Regions from separate parts of the Homo sapiens genome. Here region 1 is linked to region 2. The links are contacts of gene promoters, found by promoter capture Hi-C in human tissues and cell types (Jung and others, 2019). All regions are on one chromosome and are shown on one strand. The core of a region is centred on a gene start or on the middle of the fragment in contact, and the rest is flanking DNA. Distances in the headings are between cores, read along the strand shown. Region 1 overlaps ANGPT1 (angiopoietin 1). Region 2 holds the start of ANGPT1 (angiopoietin 1).

What was found. The method cuts DNA at HindIII sites, captures the fragments that hold promoters and counts their contacts. A contact is called where the count stands out against the background at its distance.
Region 1: a contact is called between a fragment that was not itself captured here and the fragment with the promoter of ANGPT1 in region 2, in 3 of the 25 tissues and cell types used here (aorta, hippocampus and thymus).

What each region holds. Positions count from the first base shown.
Region 1 is chr8:107,385,721-107,388,884 of GRCh38, reverse strand. The region is part of intron 1 of ANGPT1 (angiopoietin 1); the gene reads left to right. Among named protein-coding and RNA genes, the nearest start is that of ANGPT1, 110 kb to the left of the region's middle. The HindIII fragment of the contact is 3,714 bases long and covers 1-3,126 here.
Region 2 is chr8:107,496,307-107,499,237 of GRCh38, reverse strand. It overlaps ANGPT1 (angiopoietin 1), which reads left to right and starts at 1,320. Exons shown (of 9, transcript NM_001146.5): 1 at 1,320-1,976. The coding sequence starts at 1,680. The HindIII fragment of the contact is 10,393 bases long and covers 1-2,931 here.

The DNA of each region.
Region 1 (3,164 bases), core at 20-2,519, 110 kb after region 2:
TAATACTTTACTATTTCATATCAAAGAAATTAAAGGAGTAACTTCTAGTGTTAATTTGATCCATACATTGCAGAAAGAGTTTTTAGCAGCAGGAAAATAACACAGGAAATGCTCCATACTCTTCAGCCAATCAATTCGGCTCTGCCACTAATCTCTGCCAGGATACAGAATGTTACTGTCTCAATCTCTTTACAGATTCACGGGTGTGCGTTGAAAATTCTGCAATAAAGCAGGTCCACTCTAGAGACTATGCTATGCAAAGTCCATAAAAGTGGTGTACAGGAACGGTATAATCAGGCGGTTTGGGGTATTTTTTCAAATGACAACGAGCTAAGATGTTTTGAGAAGGATGGCTCAGAATAAGCTTCTGTTTACAAAATGGAACCTGACTCCTTTCAGGTATATTGATCATTGACTAGGATATTTTGTTTTATTTATTTATTTATTTATTTTTATTAAAAAATAATTTGGAAATGGGGTCTTGCTCTCTCACCTAAACTGGAGCGCAGTGGTGCAATCATAGCTCACTATGACCTAAAATTCTTGGGCTCAAGTGATCCTCCCACCTCAGCCTCTGAAGTAGCTAGGACCGTAGGTACATGCCACCATGTCCAGCTAATTCTTTTTAAGTTTTTGTAGAGACAGGGTCTTGCTATGTTGCCCGGTCTCAGATATACTGTATAATATTTTGTTTCAGGAACTTTATCCAAAGCTGTTGAGACCACCGTTTGTTACTCATAATTATGATTTGTATGCAATTCATGTTACTAAAAACTAAGTTGTGAAAATATGAATTAGTTTCTTCATAAAAAAATTTTCATCTCATTATAAATTGAGCAAACTTGAGAAACAATTAATATAGATTACTGGCAATTATTGTCTAACTTATTCATACTCTTAAATAGGTCGACCAAAACCCAGAAATATATAACAGATTCCCAAAATATTCTTTAAGACACTGAAAATTTAGAAAGGAGTTGGGATTCAGACATTTTACTTATTTACTTCAAAGAAATTTATTTTTAAAGTTGTGGGGAAAAGTAAAGAACAGCATCAATAGTTCCTCCTATAATACAAAATTTAATCTTAAAAAAAAACCTAGGTAGAGATTATAGTATTGCTTGGAATGAAGTCTTTAAATAGCATGCACAGCCAGAATCTGAATTCTTTCAACATTTCCTACCATTTTTTTCTCTGTCAAAGCTTTTTTCGGTTTATCCTTGCTCAAGATTGTGAATAATCAATGTTAGTGTCAATTATTCACAATCTTGAGCAAAAATAAATAGTACGATCGTACTATAGTATGATTCGTGCTATCGTACTATTTATTACTATTACAAATAGTCTATTGTACCATTGGTAATATTATAATTCTCCCAAATGATCAACAAGTATAAACTGTTATTTCAGTTTAAGAATTATTTGCTTGAAAGTTTTGCTGCCCAGGGATTTTGCAGTGCACACAGAAAGGTACTTGCTAGCATTTTGGCCTTTTATGTCAATAATGCTTTAACAATAGGCACAAAAGAGGAAGAATTCATGTGAAGAAGTTAGCAACTCCTATTTTGTTTCAATACAGCAGGGATCTGAACTCAAACAAAGGAATCTGAACTTGGAGAATATCTTCAGGTCATTTCATCAACGTTGCTCATACTTGGCACCTTTGATCCTTAGTATCTTCCTTTCTCTGTCTTCTACCACTTTGTTTAAGGTTTGCTTTAAAAATTATCCCTTCTGTGGAGCCTTTCCCGACTACTTAGGGTGTTTTACTTTTGTTTTCACAGTGCTGTGCACACATTTCAGTTATGGGTTTTTATAGTTTACCTGTCTATTTAGCCCACTAAACTAAGAATTATTAAAGGAATATCATTTATTTTTGTAACCTAGCATTAGCACAGTAGCTGGCACATAGTTTGTGTCTAATAACTTGTTTTTAATAAATTAATACACTCTCAAAAATAATACAATTATATCACGTTACCATAGATTACTCAGTTTTTACTGTATATTAATTCCAAAAGAGAATACCCTGTAGTCTGTCAGAGAAAGGCACTCTGCAAATTGTATTAACTAGTTACTGACTTCGAGACTGTGTTAGTGTATAATAATAGCTAACATTTGCTAAGACTTTATATATGCTAGGCACTATAATGAATGCTCTATATGTATTGATCCTCTTCCAAATCTTAGGTATAATTATCATTCGTACAATTAATACCACACTTGAAGTTAAGTGTTTGAGTAAGATTCAACTCCAGGCAAGCTGACTCCAGAGTCATCGTTCTTAATCATTAAGGTTGGCTTATTTCTAACCTATGTGATTTAAGGTTGGCTTATCTCTAACAAATACACCATTGAAACACCACCTATTGGATGCTCAACTCAAGGGCTACCAGCAGTTTGTGAAGTACTTTAAATTTTAAGGCAGCCTCTCTTCTTTTTTCTCTTGCTGTGTACTTGTAAATAAATGTGTTTTTTCTTTCCAATTTTATTTTATATTCAAGGTGTACAACATGCAGGTTTGTTACATGGGTAAATTGCATGTTGCAGGGGTTTGCTATACAGATAATTTTGTCATCCAGCTAACTAGCATAATACCTGAGAGCTAGTTTTTCAATTCTCACTCCTCCTACCCTCCATCCTCAAATGGGCCCTCTTGTCTATTGTTCCCTTCTTTTTGTCCACATGTACTCAGTGTTTAGCCCATTTAACAGTAAGAACATGTAGTGTTTGCTTTTCTGTTCCTGCATCAACTAACCTAGGATAATGGCTTCCAGCTCCATCCATGTTGTTGCAGAGGCCAGGATCTGATTTTTTTTTAATATCTGTGTAGTATTCTATGGTGTATAAGTACCATATTTTCTTTATTCAGTCCACCGTTAAAGCTAATTCACCGGATCAAGTAGGCTTTATTCCTGGGACACAGGTTGGTTTAACATATGCAAATCAATAATTGTGATTCAGTACAGCAACAGAACTGAAAACAAAAACCTCATGATCATTTCAATAGATGCAGAAAAGGCTTTTGATACAATACAACATGGCTTCATGCTAAAAACCATCAACAAGCTAGGCATCGAAGGTACATACCTTAAAATATTAAAAGCCATCTATGACAAACCCACAGCAACATCGTACTGAACAGGCAAAAGCTGGAAGCATTC
Region 2 (2,931 bases), core at 71-2,570:
TTCTGGAATTTGTTTTGACCTCTCCTCTAACTTCTCCCTAAATGCCCATCTCTAACCACTACGGACCTTCACCCACTGCCCTGTTCTCCTTCCAAGACATGGGAGATGACAGCTGTGGCTTCTGTTTTCACACCATGACTGCAGTTGTCTAAAAGCCCTCCCAGTTCCTAATGAAAATCCCAACTCATAATTCAGGTTTTCTGCATCTAGTAAAGATCTCAAAGCCGTTCCCTAAATTCTACAATTATTGCCTGTTTATGTTTATGGGTCCCTTTGTTCAAATGTTTATACGCTGCCTGTGGGAAATCATCTTCTGATAATTTTTCTTTCTTCCTTCACAGAAGCACAGAGATGTCTCCTGTACAGCCCATTGCTGGCTGTTAGCACACCTGATATATGCTTGTTCTCACATAGTATGTCTGTGCAGCCACAGGAGGTTTTTATGTGGAACTTCCACACCAGTGTTAAAGACAGCCATAGCCACCAAAGAGATCCTTGTAAAATACAGGATTAGGATATACCACAGGAATTAATAATTCTCAAGCCACTGCTTTAAATTGTAGCCACATTGTTTTTGTAGGGAAGTTGCTCAATTTATATACACAGAACATGAAGGGTTGCATTCTGATCAGGACACCAGTTTCATTTAAGAACCCTATACCAAAAGGTACTTAGATAACCCTCTTTAATATGCACATACTATATTGCTTTGTGCAACATATTGCTTTGAGCAACAAATGATGCTAATTTTCTTGCTAATTTGATCCTCTCTGATTATTTTCTTCAACTCCTAAAAGTCTAAGTGAATACAATGAAAGAATACCATCTGTAAAAACTGTTTTTTAACATATTTTTCCTCAGAGTCAAGAATACATGTTTTTTAAAGACATTTAATAATGATATGGGTTTATCATTCTCTATCAAAAATAATTCCATTGGACATTATGCCAATTTTCTTCTTAGGGTCCCTCGACTAAATAGTAACTTTAAAAACATACTGCTAGTTTGCTATATTTTAGTAGGTCAGCATGCACACCAAAAGTGTATTAAGGTGGACTGCTCTATTTATTGATTTGCCATGAATCTGCTAAAGGCTCAAGGCAATTGTCTGTGGAAAGGGGCGGGAGGGCCATACATGATCGAGGTCATGCGCATCTAGCCAATTTGTAAGACGATCCCGCCGCCCTAAGCCATCAGCAATCCTTAGTATAGGGGCACACTCATGCATTCCTGTCAAGTCATCTTGTGAAAGGCTGCCTGCTTCCAGCTTGGCTTGGATGTGCAACCTTAATAAAACTCACTGAGGTCTGGGAGAAAATAGCAGATCTGCAGCAGATAGGGTAGAGGAAAGGGTCTAGAATATGTACACGCAGCTGACTCAGGCAGGCTCCATGCTGAACGGTCACACAGAGAGGAAACAATAAATCTCAGCTACTATGCAATAAATATCTCAAGTTTTAACGAAGAAAAACATCATTGCAGTGAAATAAAAAATTTTAAAATTTTAGAACAAAGCTAACAAATGGCTAGTTTTCTATGATTCTTCTTCAAACGCTTTCTTTGAGGGGGAAAGAGTCAAACAAACAAGCAGTTTTACCTGAAATAAAGAACTAGTTTTAGAGGTCAGAAGAAAGGAGCAAGTTTTGCGAGAGGCACGGAAGGAGTGTGCTGGCAGTACAATGACAGTTTTCCTTTCCTTTGCTTTCCTCGCTGCCATTCTGACTCACATAGGGTGCAGCAATCAGCGCCGAAGTCCAGAAAACAGTGGGAGAAGATATAACCGGATTCAACATGGGCAATGTGCCTACACTTTCATTCTTCCAGAACACGATGGCAACTGTCGTGAGAGTACGACAGACCAGTACAACACAAACGCTCTGCAGAGAGATGCTCCACACGTGGAACCGGATTTCTCTTCCCAGAAACTTCAACATCTGGAACATGTGATGGAAAATTATACTCAGTGGCTGCAAAAAGTAAGTGATTGCTTTCAGTTTCTAATAGCACGGACCTTTTTCCTTTCTTGCACTGCAGCTAACTTAAAGTTCCTTAGGGGAGCATTTGTGTATTTACCTTTTGCTCCAGGGGGGCAGTGTTTGCAATTGCAAGACGGCTGTCTGGGTTTGGCTTCCTGGGTAAGCCAAGGTTTGGGGGCTTGCCCAAACCTATGAATGTGTGGGGGCACCCCGTTTGTGTGTCTAGCCCTGGCAAATTTTATGACATTTTTGGTTTCTCTTTTCTAAAGTTCAGCATTAAGGTTCTCTCTGTCAAAACACTACCTTAAGAAAGAAAGTATGTACCTCTTAAGCAAGTTGGTGAAAAATAAATAATAATGACAATATTAATTAATAAGATCAAATCGATTTTGCACCAGAAAATTTTGTGCCGCTGGGGTGGCAAATCATCACAAAGTATTTGTTTTTTTAACCTTTATAAAAATTAACATGAAGTGAGAGTAAATATAAAATATGATATTTGGTTGGAGAAATTGTATATTTATGTAAAGGGAACTGTTAGTTTCAGCAAGTGGTAGAATAGTAGACTGATTTCTGTTAAATATTTTTTTCTTCTGTCCTTGAGAAAAAAAATTAAAAAGATACATTGTAATGTTAACTGTCGGAAAGGGGTTGCTCGCTCACGATGAGGGCATGCTGGCTGTTGAGGAAGACATGCACCTGCAGATATGGGCTGAACGCAGCATGTAGTCTACTATATTCCTGAAATACCTCCCTTCTCAGGGCATTGTAGTTAGAGACAGTACCTGGCGAGTTTAAGTATCCATGTTATTTGATGAATGTTAATGTTGAGTATGAATGTAATCTCAATTTATAGAAATCAAATCGAATAGTTTATCCAGTTATTTATCTACAAACCATTTAAGTTTTTGTTGAAGATAAGCCTATTAAATTATGAACACACTTCTGCAATTCA